5 separate regions of the Homo sapiens genome follow, and all the other regions are linked to region 2. The links are contacts of gene promoters, found by promoter capture Hi-C in blood cells and fetal thymus (Javierre and others, 2016). All regions are on one chromosome and are shown on one strand. The core of a region is centred on a gene start or on the middle of the fragment in contact, and the rest is flanking DNA. Distances in the headings are between cores, read along the strand shown. Region 1 overlaps LPXN (leupaxin). Region 2 holds the start of SSRP1 (structure specific recognition protein 1). Region 3 has its middle 5.7 kb from the start of CNTF. Region 4 holds the start of LPXN (leupaxin). Region 5 overlaps LPXN (leupaxin).

Region 1 (2,700 bases), core at 42-2,541, 1.2 Mb after region 2:
ATTTTTTAAACATCCTAGAAGTTACTCAAAACCAAAAGTAAATAAGTACGTGATCAATTTTAGTAATGGCATTTCCAGGGTTTTTAAAAAGCAGAACTTTTTACTTGTGAGTAGTTTCCTTATTGCTAAAACACTGGTCCTGAAGTCAGTATCTCTTTTTGAGCAAATAAAACCACTTCCGTTCAATGTGGGAAGAAAGTGTTTTCACTTCTTAATTACATCTTAGTGAACTCTGGATTTTCTTTGACATTTAAAAATAGTTAAATTCTATTGAATCTCAAAATAGCTAATCCTTTTTAAAAAAGTTTTAGCACCTGTACATTTCTTTTTAAGGGCTAAAACTCCAAGTTTATTTTGTCAAATTGCCAAGGCAACCAAGAACATTGCCATATTAACACCTGCGTGTGACATCGTTGAGTGAAGACATTGCAAAGAGGATGTTTAAAAGTTGAATGTGTGTTCTGCATAGTCTGGCGCTCTCAGACAGCCAAACAGGATAGAGGCCAGATGGTTCCGTATCTGTGTGGCCTCCCACATATCTTACATGCATTTGGAGTTCCTATTTTATAGAATTAACTGTTGCCAATTCCTTGTAACTCTCACAACCCCCTTATTATCCATTCCAACAAAGGACATAGATATAATAAAGTTTGGCAAGAAACATTTAATCCATTTCAGCTCTCCCAAGTAGTACTATTCCTCTATCAATCTAAAGACATCAAATTTTGTCCTATTTTTAAAAATACCTCCAGTGAAGGAGTTTTCGCCAGTAACTTATCTCAGAATCAAGGATTCTAAGAGTCTGGTTTTTGTTATAACAAATAATCACACAATTATTTTTAAGACCACGGGAAGAAAGATATTGTACTGATCTTCTCAATATCCCTTTTGCAGAAAGATTAGTCCTTGTGAAGCTTACTTTTATAAAAAGTAAACTGTAGGACAGTAAACTGACAGGACATAAGAAAATCAGATTCTCTGATAACCTGACAAGCTTTTCTAAACATTTACTTATAATATTTTGAGATGAACAAATGATTAAGAGGAATTTTTCTTTGAGTCTTGGCTTTCCTAATTCTAGATAATAATCATTTGAGCTTTATTTATAGCATCTTTCTTCAGAGATGCTCTAAGAACAGCCATCTCATTTGTCTTCAGGAGGCAAATGTGAAATTGTGTTTCATTTTTTACTTTAGAAATGAATTTGTGGCTGGGCGCAGTGGCTCACGCCTGTAATCCCAACACTTTGGGAGGTCGAGGTGGGTGGATCACCTGAGGTCGGGAGTTTGAGACCAGCCTGACCAACGTGGAGAAACCCCATCTCTACTAAAAATAGAAAAATTAGCCTGGTGTGGTGGCGCATGCCTGTAATTCCAGCTACTCAGGAGGCTGAGGCAGGAGAATTGCTTGAACCCAGGAGGTGGAGGTTGCGGTCAGCCGAGATCGCGCCATTCCACTCCAACCTGGGCAACAAGAGCGAAACTCCATCTCAGAAAAAAAAAAAAAGGAAAAAGAAATGAATTTGTAAGGTTTCTAATGGAGAGCCAGGGTTTCTCCTCCTGTAAACAAAGTAATAAAAACAATTTTAAGAAGCTTTGTCATTTTTAAAAATGATTCAATCATCTAAGTCTAGAAAATAAAATGGTTATGGGACCAAACTAAAAAGAAAAAAAAGAAAAATTAGTGAAAAGGAGACCCTCCTTTTAATTTCTTCTGATTAAAAATTTTAAAGTGTGCATTGGATGGAAGGAAACGAGGTATGATATAATCTTAATTGTACATAGTGCCTAGTATATAACACGGGAAGCAGAAAGTTTATCTCCCAAACAAATATGACAATGAGTTATTGAAACCACAAGCCAGTTTATTTATCAATGATGTCAGTACTCAAAGTTGTCCAGTTAAAATCTACTTCCTCTTGAAAAACAAAAATACACTGAAGGAAGATGCAAAGAGCTAAAAGTGGTATCATGATTCCACAGCAGTGATTGTAAGACAGTGAGCCACAGGGAAATGGGAAAACGTGAAAAGAAACAAGTATCAGGACCAAATTAGAGAAGATATGAGTAGGGCCATCACTAGAGGTGAAAATGGAGAAACCTAAGAAAACCAGTGTTGGCATGAATTATGCAAGTGGAAAATACATCTGTAGAGGGACGAGATAGAAGGACCTAGATCTAACTCCAAGTGCTTGATTGGAGAAGAGAGGGAGAAAGAGAATTTATAGAATTAACTGTATAGAAGCCTAAAAAATAAGATTATCAGCCTAGTCATGTAAAGTCTAGAAGTTCCTTTATTTGCTCATCACCTTTCCTTTTTCTATAAGACTATTAAGCAGAAGGTCAGTAACAGAAAATTTACCCTTTCCTCTCCTCTCTTGGTTTAAATTTTATAAGGAATCTGAAGAGGCTATGGATCAGTTGGCATTACAGTGGGAAGAGCTTATTGAAGCAAGGTTGACAATAGGTCTTGTCATTCTGCTCCCTGAAAATGCCCTTCGACAACTGTGTCAGGCAGAAAGCACACACAAAGTGCTCAGGATGGAACTTGTACCCCATGGCACTGATACAACGGCCAGTGATGGGCTGCCCACACCCATGGCAGAGCGTTCCCCGGCGGTGATGGTAATGGAGCTCACAGAATGGACGTCCATCCAGTTCAAAGAAGGAGCCAGTAGAAAAACTGGTGAAGCAGTCCTGG
Region 2 (2,700 bases), core at 193-2,692:
TGGGACATCTCACCGATTCTCGGAAGCCATCATACTTGTAGACATGGCCATTCTTTGTAAGCAGTTTAAGTCCATGGCCCAGAGCAACACGGCGCCAGATACCTTCTGTTAACTCCCCAGCCTGGATGTTGTCCACTTTGCCTGTCTTGCTATTCTTGAAGATGATGCCCTGACGGCTCAACCTCAGTCGACCATCATTCTGTAAGAAAAGCAGGCCCAGATGCATGGAGACAGTACACAGCATGTCCTGGGTTCTACAGCTCTACCTAACACACATTCCTGCTGCAAGTGGACTGGCCAGATTATCAATGCAGGAGCAACAGCTGAGGGTGCCAAGGAGTCTAGATTCTAAACCAGACTCTGGTATCTAGAACCCTTAACAGATTCTCAGTTTCCTCATTTGTAAAACAGGAATTGGGAACTGAACAGCATATACGGTCCCTATAACTCTGAGACTATCTCTCAGTATTGCCTTGAGTTGGTGGAGACACTAGGTACACATTATACTGAGTCTTCTTTTTCCAAAATAACGTTACCAAAGCAAGCTCTCATTAATGGACAAAAACTCTACCCTCCTTCCTTCTCTCTACTTGTATCACCTGTCCAAGCCATTCTCACCATGGAACCTTTCACCTCCTGATAGACGTCGTTGAACTCCAGTGTCTCTGCCATGTCGACCCCTGCCTGTGGTGGCCTGGGCAGAGCCCCAGGCTGCACAAGGGAAACCAAGTAAACTGGGAGCTGGGCCCCAACTCCTGAGTGGGTGTGCGGATGCTCAGCAGGTTGGGAATCTGAATTCAAGAGGAAGACAGATAAGCATGAAAGACAGCACCTCGCTGTGCTCACGGATGGAGCCAGGTAGCAACTCCCAGCTGCGCCTGGATGTCTCAGGATTTCCTCTGCCTGGAAACCTACAGACGGACGCTGCAGTGCCCGAGGGTCCAGGTCCAGGCCTGGGTGGAGAACCGGGCCCGGAATACCGCTGACACCCAACCCGACGCCCGCTCTGGCCGCTCCGGCGGGAGCCATGGCAACGAGCAGCGGAACCCCAGGGTCTGCCAGGAGCCCGCACATCGCACGCGACCCAATCCAGCTCAGAGTGCAGGGTTTCCCTCGCACCGCTCCCACCACCCCGCGGCCCCAGACCCACGGTTCACCCCCGCCCCACATAATGGATTCGCCCGCTCCCCGCGGTTGCGAACGCGGAATGGTCCATGTCGAGGGTCCCGTGGGGGAGCGGGGCCCCTGCCTTCCTGGGACCGGGGACGACCACCACCTACCTCCTCAGGCTGCGGCCTCGCGAGGGCCCCGGCGCGAGAGGTGGGCGCGCTGGGGGGACGCGGGGGGGGCGCGGGGAGGGGGATGGGGGGACACCGGGGAAGCTTTTCCCGCGTGCGCGGCCCCGCGTCCCGCCACCGGAAGCCGTACACAGGCCACAGAGAGGATGAGCTGGCTAGAGAGACGCGAGTCGGGCCCGCCTGCGAGACAGTCGCATAGAGCGTCAGCGACTCTGGAGGACCTGAGGGAAGGGTGGTTGCCGTGAAGCCTCTCTCACCCAGGGGGAATCCGGCCTAGAAAATGTGTGTAGGGCTCTTTAGAAACTACAGACACTTCTTCAGTCGAGACTAGATACTAAAGAGAAATTGTGTAGTTTTATTGTATCAGACTTAGTACAGGGGTGGGGTGGGGGTGTGTATTGGAATGATGCGTGCCCGTTTCTCTGCAAAATAGTTTCTATGTCATGGAAAGGAGTCGATGGGACAAGAAGAGAAGTATTTGAACAGTTGTGGGAGGAAACGACCTCTCCCACTGGCTGCGGAGAGTATGCGGGTGTTGGTGTCATCGTGGGTGCACTGCTTTCTGGCTGAACTGTCAAGTTCACTGTCTACACCCAAAATTTTCACATCCTTAACCGAAAATTATAGGTACCTCCAAGAGGCTGGCAAACGGCCTTATCCAGTTCAAGTCCTGGTGTCAGATTCACCTTGGAGCCAGAACTGATTTGAAACCACATCATCCTGTGGTTGCGGAAGCCAGGTCTCCCCCGTATAATCCCAGAGTGCATTTTGCAACATCAGAGACCAGACCTGGAAAAGATGTTTTAGTTTTTCTACCCCAACCTCCTTTTACTGATGGGAAAACTGAGACCCAAAGGGGAGTGAGTTGCCCAGGGTCTCAGTGCGTTGGCAACAAGGCTAGGTAGGACCCAGACCTCCTTAACACCACCAGTCCAGTTATCTTCTGTCATAATCACAGTGACTGTATGTTCAGAATGACTATTGATATGTGTCCTACATGAAGACATTAGTACAGAATATGTAAGCTCAAGATTTCCCTGACAATCAATACACCAGCTTGCTAAATCAATCCTGGGGTAAGAGACAACAGGAATGCACCCTTCTCCCCTGAACTCATAGCTTTAACCTCTGAGTAGTGGCTATTCCAGCATTATCTAGCAAAATAAATTCAACTGGGTTTAATAAATAGATATTGAGGGCCTATTACTACTTTAGCACACTTCTCAGATTTGAGGAAACTTGAACAAGGTGAAAACATCCCCGGCCAGGCACGGTGGCTCACACCTGTAATCCTAGCACTTGGGGAGGCCAAGGCAGGGAGATCACTTGAGGTCAGGAGTTTGAGACCAGACTGGCCAACGTGGTGAAGCCCCGTCTCTATTAAAAATACAAAAATTAGCCA
Region 3 (2,700 bases), core at 198-2,697, 1.3 Mb after region 2:
GGATTTGAAGTGGCAGAGGGTCCACAAAAGGCACAAGTACTAACCACTGAATGGGAGGAGATAGAAAAATGTGTAAGTCACAATTAAGTCACAGAATCACCAAGTCTTTACCAAGTGCATTGTCAGCACTTTGCAAAACGCTGTGTACTTGTCTTTCAGGAAGCATACAATATGCACCCAAAAGAAGTGTGGGGAAAGCTAATCTTAGAAAAAGATAAAGGGGAAATGAGCAGTAGACCATGCAACAAAAATCAACATGTATGAGATCTGAATGTGTAGACATTGCATCATGTTTATTTGAAATGGATAAATAGAAAAAGGGACTGAATGGATTAGTATTCTAGATGTGTGCCTTATAGTAAAGAAGAGGATAACGATGACACTATGGAATTACGTTTTTTTAGGAATATAGAACCCCAAGAAGATTTTGTTCATTAGGTTTTATTCTGTTGATCTGATATGGATAAGATCTCTGGGAAATCATATATGGTATAACTATATAGATTGAATTATAGTTTAAGGTACATAGATTTAGTTTCTAGCCCTAACTCATTTTGTAAAAACAATTTCTTCTGCCTCCTTTTCAGAGAGTACCTTCTGAAAAGTCCTCTGTGGGTAAAGAGATCTTGTTTTCCTGAGTCAAGGAATTGCATGGATGAGAGTTTTTCTTGCATTCATGTAAGAGGGTGATTTGGAAAAGGCTCGCAAATCAGCACAAACTTGAAAGCCAAGCATGGAATAAAATTAGCCTTAAGATAATCAGGTTTAAGTGAAGGGAGAGTTTTAATAAAAATGGAAAATGTAAAGTCATAGCTCTGGTATTGCTGTTATTTCAAGCTGCTATGGATCAATGCCCAAAGGATGACTCATTGTTGTGATCACTTGTCAGACAGGGAGAGGACTAGTAAATATTTCAGGAAGACATATCTGAAAAGTTATTTAGATTGAATTTTGTTTGTGAATCCTCAGCTCCTCATGAGGTACCTGAGCATCTCTGTTAAGGGGTGAAATAGAGACACGGGAAGCAGAGAGACCTCCACCAGGATGTAAAGGGGATTGGTAAAGAGGAAGGGGGTAGGGGGGAGTAGAATTTTGATTTCACTTCAGTTGATTCTGTGTGTGTGTGTGTGTGTGTGTGTGTGTGTGTGTGTGTGCGCGCGCGCGCGTGTGTGACTAATGTACTGTTAATGTACTGTTTAGGTCAGGACATTTCTTAAAAGGAATGCTTTGGCCTCCTGCCTCATCCCACCTCCACTGCAAGCGTCAGACCCACCCAAGAATGAGCTCTCTGAATGTGGGTGCATTCAAAAGCGAAAAATGATAAAAACTTCATTTCTTGGCTTCTGTAGCCCTCTGAGAACTACAGATAAAGACAGAATAAGATAATTTGATGGTTTGATGAAGTGTCTGGGTGTGAGATAAAATCTATGTGCTTATGATTCTTAATATAAAAGATTATTTCGATCAATCTGGTTTGAACACATAGAAAACAAAAGATGCAAGAATAGCTAACAATAAAGTTCTTTTCTCAGCAATACCATAAGTTACTTCTTTTCTGTATCTTTGGATGAATGAGGGGAATTTCAAGTGACTTCAGCATTGGATGAAGCATAATCCTCCTAGCCAGGGCCAGGCCCAATCAAGCGTGCTGAGTAAATCTCCATGGTGCCAGGCCACTCACACTGGGCAAAACTCCCAGGGCCAGTCAGCCTAGAAAAGGTAGATTGCCCCTATATCACCAGGCCAATGCTTTGCCCTCTGAATACGTAGTCCTATCAGCTAGACTGCAGATGAGAATGATTTCCTTTTATATGGCTTAATTGCAAGTAGCTGACCACCCCCCCCCCCCCATTAAGCCTTTGACTTCAAGAGAAGAACCCTGACTAGCCCATTTTTAGTCAGGTTGGAGGTAGAAACCAAATTGTTGAAAATCACATAGAGGAAAATATGAAACAGTTACTGAGAGATTCTGTATTTCTATCCACATATTTAAGGTAGTATGAAAGGGAATAATGTAACATGTCAGGCAGCTCTGCATTATTTTATATTATTTAATCCTCTGACATATCTCTTAGATGAGGAAAATGAGAATGAGCATTAACTTGCCCAAATTTCCTCCTCTAGCACCTGACAGGGCTGGAGTCTTAATTCTGGCTCTAAAGCTCACTTCACTACATCTTGTGCCATAGGACATCTGGTAATCAAAATTCTCTTATTCTGAAATCCATTCTCTGTCTCTAATCCACTCTCCTTGGCTAAAGCCAATACAGGCTTGTACAGAATTTTGCTTTGTAACGAAGTCTATATAAGTTTCTAAACTTTCAGACAAGTCACTCTTTTTTCTGAGCTTCCTCATTTGTGAAATGAAAATGATGAAAAATAGCTAACTACACAGTTGTTATAGACAAATTGAGTATCTGAAATTACTTGTAACTGACATGCAGACATCATCAGGTATATTTAATGCCTCAGGTAGCTTGGATTCAGAGTTGATTGAGGAGCAAGCTCCTAAGTATCTCAGAGAATACCACCTGCTTACCAGGAATGATCTGGCCACAGCCTCAACTTCACCCTATTGTGCCTATTGGCCTTTGGCCACTGGAGGTTGACCCAGCAGTCTCACTCACAGCCTCCAGGAATCATCCACTTCCCTGGAGAGTTACAACCCAGGCCATTCACCCAGGAGGCAGCTTTCACGGT
Region 4 (2,700 bases), core at 38-2,537, 1.2 Mb after region 2:
AATTTGCCCTTTACTTTTCCTCTGTTTCTCCAGCTTTGAAATCACACGCCATTTTTTTTAAGACAATGTAACAATGTGCAAGATATTTTTTGTTGTTGTTTTTTGCACTTTTGACATACCCTATCCCCAAACACACCCCAAACCAGGACACTGTGGAATTAATACAGTTTGGAAATTGGGTATAGTTTAGTGACTCAGTGTTAGTTAAGATGCTGGCAACAGATGTTGGCAAAGGCTATGGAATGAGTCCCAAGAATGACAAACCTTACATTACTCCAAAGGTTTGAAATCCAGGATTTCTCTGGTTAATATGGTTAATAGTTCCACTGCTGGTTTTAATTGTCTTAGAGTGGAAGGAGGTGTCATATTTTCAGGCCCTAGTAATCTCTTCCTTCAGAATTCTTCTGAATAAAAAGCTTAGCAACAAAATCACTAGAGTTAGAGTGCTATGCCTTCTTGATTTAATACTAAAACATGGAACAAATGAAACCACTCTGGCCTTTTTCCAACCTCTACAGATCCCTCATTCTTATACTTCTAGTCCGTCTTTTCTTCCTCATAACACCCCAATTCCCTTTTTGCTCTTTCTTTTCCTCCTCAAATCATATCTCTGCATTGTCTCGCTATGTGGCCACCCTTGATCTCCAGTGACCTCCAAAGGGCAAAACGCCCATAACAAGACAACAACTGCAGTAACAATCCAGTCCAAAAGTATTTGCCAAGAGTTTATTCCGCGGTTAGCACCAAACTCTCCATCTATTTTGCCACTGCAAACAGTGAACCCATAGTTCCCCAAAACAATCATAGTTCCTCATGCTTCACTCTTGGCAGGGCTGAGGACAGGAAAGAAGTGAAAATAAAATCTTCCATTACTACCCTCAGTCTAGCCAGAAGTATACCCCACCACACAAGGAGATGGCAGCCAAGTCTTCACTCCCTCAGAGTTTCTCCTCAGGCTCCTCACTCACCTAACTCTTCCATTGTCCTACATCCAAGATGCTCTTGTCTCACAGGCCGTGAGGAACAGCTTTGGCATGTGCTGAAGAAGAGGACCGCAAAGGAACTGGATGAGACAGCATAAGGCAGCCTCTATAAACCTTTTTGGTTCCTGTATTTGCTTAGCACTTCCTCTCTTTTGATTTGGTGAGCTTTTTTTTTTTTTTCATAGGTTACACAGTTTTAAAAATGTGACTGACATAGAAAGGTAGATAGTAAGATTTGCATTATGGCAGTGCATTGGCCAGGGTGATAAAGATTCAAAATTAATTTTGCAAAATTTGAGGACCTACTCTGTGCCAGGATTCATCTTGGATTCATGGGAATGGCAGACTTATACTTGCGTTTTTTCCAAGTGTAGGTACCCCACTCTGAGCATCTTTCTTTTTTCTTTTTTTTTTTTCTGTGAAGCTGGGAGACACAGAGGCATAGTCTCCTTCTTAAAATTTGCATCAGAGTTGACCAGCATCCATTTCATTTTGTTGTCTTATTTATTCAGAAATTATGGTTATCTGCTTTCCTGCATGGAACGTAAATCCTTAAAAGTAGGGCAGAAGTGGATTCATGCTTGGATTCTCAGGGCCTGGTTTACTCAGTGGTCCCAAAAGCAAACATCTATAGGGTGGTCACAAAGAAGGAAGCCAGGTTTGACACCAGATGTTAAACTGTGTGCATCTCAATTAAGCATAATCCCTGCCTAGATACACTGCCTTATAGCAATTTCTTTGGAAAGTAACACTGAGGTTAACTCTTCACCTTTTTTACCACTGTGATTTATTCACCTTGAATTAAACATTTACAAAAGGCCTACTATAAAAAAGCAATACGTAAGGAACTATAATTATGGCCCTGTGAAATAGATTTTTTCCCCCTTTTTACCAATGGTGAAATAGGTTCATGTAATAGCAACTTGCTAAGATAATTAATTGGTAGCTTTGCTACTTACTATAATTGCAAAGTCTGGGATCTTTCCTCTACAACACCGTAGCCTTCTTTACTTTTTTTAAGACAAGCTCTCTGTCACCCAGGCTGGCGTGCAAAGGTACTATCATAGTTCAGTGTAACCTCCAACTCGAACTCCTGAACTCAAGCGATTTGCCCTTCTCAGCTTCTGGAGTAGCTGGGACCAGAGGTGCATCCCATCACGCCACCAGGTTAGCTTAAAAGCTTTATTTTTATTTTTTATGTAGAGGGTGGTCTCCCTATGTTGCCCAGGCTGGTCTGGAAGTTCTGGGCTCAAGGGATCCTCCCACTTTGGCATCCAAAAGCGCTGGGATTCCGGGGGTGAGCTACCACATCCAGCCCACAGTGGCTTTTTTTTTTTAGGGAATAATTCATTCTCCATTCCACTGTCTGTACATTTTTTTTTGAAAGGAGATTCCTCCTCTGTATTACTTTGAGCATCCATTGGATGTCAGCACTGTTCCTTCCAAAAGTCTGCTCACTACAAACTCAATCTTAAAAAATTTCCATTGACACTATGCCAATCGATTATTACAACTGAAAATGACATTAGCCCTATGAAAATGGAAAATACTCAGTAGAGAATATAAAACATTTGTCTAATATGAAGTGGTATCTGAGTCAAAGTACTGGAAGGAAAAATGTACTTCAGCACTTGTCTACAGTTTAACTGAATGATTAATGTGAAATTTAAAATTGGATCCCCAGATCTTGTTTCCAGCTTCTTTCTTTTGGGACTTT
Region 5 (2,700 bases), core at 86-2,585, 1.2 Mb after region 2:
ACTGAGTTCATTCTAAAAGGACAGGAGAAAAACAAAGTAAAGCAGCTTTCTGATTCCATATTTGTTCAAAACAAACATAAAAAGGAGAAATTAAAAAAAACAAGACAATTCAGAAAACACATGAAACAAACATACAAAGGGGGAAGAATGGGTCATGTAGAAAGGATCAAGGATAAAAAAAATTTAATAAAAACTTGCCAATCATGGAAGCTAGAAGACAGTGAAGCAATGTCTTCAGAATTATGAAGGAAAATAGTTTCCACTTAGAATTCTATGCCCAGGCAACTTAAGGGCAATGACAGAATAAAAATATTTTCAGATATTCAAGTTCTCAAAAATTCTTTCTCAGAAAGCTACTAGGGGATGTTCCCCACCAAAATAAAGGTGGTAACATGTATAAAACATAGACATGGGACCCAGGAAACAGAGCATCCAAAGAGGAAACTAATAAAAGGAATTTCCAAGAGTAATTACTAGATATAATTCTAAGTTAATGAACCAGAATGACTGCTACTCAGCAGGAAGAAATCATTTCATGTTGAATCAGGAGGAGGAAAGTCTCCTGGAGGGATATCTCCAGAAAAAAAAAAAAGAAAAGAAAGAAACTGACTTGTTGCCAGATGTAGTTGGCCATTTTGAAAAGAATTTCACAGTTCTGTTGCATAACTTAGTGATAAGTACAATAAAAACTAAGCCAATTTCAAAAAGGATTCAAATGTTAACTTTAGAAAAAAATGAATTTATACCAAAAGGACACTGTGATAATAATATTAACACTACTATACCTCCATGTGCTTGGCACTATTCTAAATACCACGCTTGTATTGTCTCTAAATCCTCATAACAACCCTATAAGGTAGGCAATTTCATTAGGACTATTTTACTGATGAGGAAAGTAAGGTACAGAGATGTTAAATGACTTGAACAAATACCACAACCCAGATTTGAACCTGGAAGTCTGACTCTAAAATCCAGACTCTAGTGTAGTCAGTTTGCTACATGGCTTACTTGTGAGCAGTATTCTATGATTGTCAACATATGCACACTTAATACTGATCTAACCTGTAATTATGACATAATTATATATTGAAAAAACAGGGGAGGGGAAATATGTTAGGAGTGAGTGGGGTAATAATAACATTTCTAAACCTCATCTTCCCTCTTAGACAGTCAATACATAATGGTTAAAACTGGAAAAATAAAACAATCTATAACAATATAAAGTTATTATTTAAAACACATAAGCAGGCCAGGCGCAGTAGTTCATGCCTGTAATGCCAGCACTTTGGGAGGCCAAGGCGGGCGGATCACGAGGTCAGGAGTTCAAGACCAGCCTGGCCAATATGGTGAAACATTGTCCCTACTAAAAATACAAAAATTAACCGGGTGTGGTGGCAAGTGCCTGTAGTCCCAGCTACTTGGGAGGCTGAGGCAGGAGAATCGCTTGAACCCAGGAGGTGGAGGTTGCAGTGGGCGGAGATCGCACCAGAGATCGCACCACTGCACTCCAGCCTGGGCAACACAGTGAGACTCCGTCTCAAAAAAACAAACAACAACAACAACAAAAAATAAGTAAATATCAGAAGAAACAGCTAAAATAATTTGGAGAGGAGAACTGGATTTGGAGATGAGAAAGGGACTTTTTCAATATTCAACAAGAAAAGGCTTTTTCAATATTACCCTTGAAGTAATATTTGAGTTTTTAAACTATGCATTTGTATTTCTGTGATTTAAAAAATCAATTTAAAGGGAAATTATAAATGTTGGAGAAAGGTAGGGAGGGATGGTATCTAGTACTGAAATGGGCACTTTGATAGTACTGATAGGAACCAGGACTCCCGTGACTACCAGGAAAGGTGTTGCTGGTCTTATAACTACCCACTGGGGTGTGGGATACAGCCTCTCAAGTCGGGTCATACCTTCTGCACCAAACACCTCTCCGCAGTGAGAGCAGAAGAAGTGCTCTGGGTGCCAGGTCTGGTTCATTGCTGTCAGCACTTTCTGGAAAGGGAACACACAGATATTATAATGATGCAGAAGTTGTAAAGCATGACTCTGGTTCTAAGTGAGTGACTGAAAGCTGGAGAGGAGCGGGGATTTACTTACATCCAGGATGGGAGCAGCGCAGTAAGCACAGCGTGGAGAAAAAAGTTGGTGGTAGTCGTTGGGGCAGTAGGCCAAGCCACTCCGCTCAAAGAAGGGACTGGAGCCAATCTCTTCTTTGCAATGAGTACAGACAAAATGCTCAGGATGCCATGATTGCCCTAGAGCATGGATCACCTGTGGAGTGAAATAAAGCCTGACACAGGAGGCCAGTTGAGTGCTCTACAGCCTACAGGTTGCACAACTCTAGGGAGCACTCTTCACATTGTACCCCTTGTAGACAACACGCCCTGGAATTATACAACACTGAGGCCTAGACCTAGGTTCCACCTAAGGCCATCTGTGGTCTGTGCTTTATGGATTGATAATAAAAGGATGCCCACTTCCGGGACTGATCACTGTGATGAAAGCCTGTAAATGTTCACAACCACTGCACTGCCACAGGGGGTGGCAGAAACAACATATAGCACATTGATGACAGAGAAGTTGTAACTGTAGCCTTAGTGTGGAAGGGACCCCTGGAAGAGGAAAAGGCCAAATGACAGTTTTTATTCCTCTAGTTTGAACACTTTATTCCACGCCCCATGCAGTCAGGTC

The links. The method cuts DNA at HindIII sites, captures the fragments that hold promoters and counts their contacts. A CHiCAGO score of 5 or more calls a contact.
Region 1: a fragment that was not itself captured here is called in contact with the fragment with the promoter of SSRP1 in region 2 in 10 of 17 cell types (total CD8 T cells, naive CD4 T cells, non-activated CD4 T cells and 7 more); the score reaches 12.7 in total CD8 T cells.
Region 3: a fragment that was not itself captured here is called in contact with the fragment with the promoter of SSRP1 in region 2 in 6 of 17 cell types (total CD4 T cells, non-activated CD4 T cells, fetal thymus and 3 more); the score reaches 11.4 in total CD4 T cells.
Region 4: a fragment that was not itself captured here is called in contact with the fragment with the promoter of SSRP1 in region 2 in 9 of 17 cell types (naive CD4 T cells, activated CD4 T cells, non-activated CD4 T cells and 6 more); the score reaches 15.7 in naive CD4 T cells.
Region 5: a contact is called between a fragment that was not itself captured here and the fragment with the promoter of SSRP1 in region 2, in 1 of 17 cell types (naive CD8 T cells). The highest score is 6.0, in naive CD8 T cells.

Annotation. Positions count from the first base shown.
Region 1 is chr11:58,525,028-58,527,727 of GRCh38, forward strand. It overlaps LPXN (leupaxin), which reads right to left. Exons shown (of 9, transcript NM_004811.3): 9 at 1,844-2,696. The coding sequence ends at 2,427. Among named protein-coding and RNA genes, the nearest start is that of OR5B21, 18 kb to the left of the region's middle. The HindIII fragment of the contact is 599 bases long and covers 993-1,591 here.
Region 2 is chr11:57,334,450-57,337,149 of GRCh38, forward strand. It overlaps SSRP1 (structure specific recognition protein 1), which reads right to left and starts at 1,443. Exons shown (of 17, transcript NM_003146.3): 1 at 1,281-1,443; 2 at 619-791; 3 at 14-199. The coding sequence starts at 672. It also overlaps a transcript of P2RX3 not described here. RefSeq lists enhancers at 612-681, 1,532-1,581 and a silencer at 1,182-1,361. The HindIII fragment of the contact is 4,158 bases long and covers 1,381-2,700 here.
Region 3 is chr11:58,626,993-58,629,692 of GRCh38, forward strand. No RefSeq gene overlaps it. Among named protein-coding and RNA genes, the nearest start is that of CNTF, 5.7 kb to the left of the region's middle. The HindIII fragment of the contact is 3,706 bases long and covers 1-2,700 here.
Region 4 is chr11:58,574,792-58,577,491 of GRCh38, forward strand. It overlaps LPXN (leupaxin), which reads right to left and starts at 1,065. Exons shown (of 9, transcript NM_004811.3): 1 at 969-1,065. The coding sequence starts at 981. RefSeq lists enhancers at 938-997, 1,008-1,057. The HindIII fragment of the contact is 1,747 bases long and covers 415-2,161 here.
Region 5 is chr11:58,547,867-58,550,566 of GRCh38, forward strand. LPXN (leupaxin) reads right to left here. Exons shown (of 9, transcript NM_004811.3): 6 at 2,107-2,280; 7 at 1,920-2,001. Among named protein-coding and RNA genes, the nearest start is that of LPXN, 27 kb to the right of the region's middle. The HindIII fragment of the contact is 2,737 bases long and covers 1-2,700 here.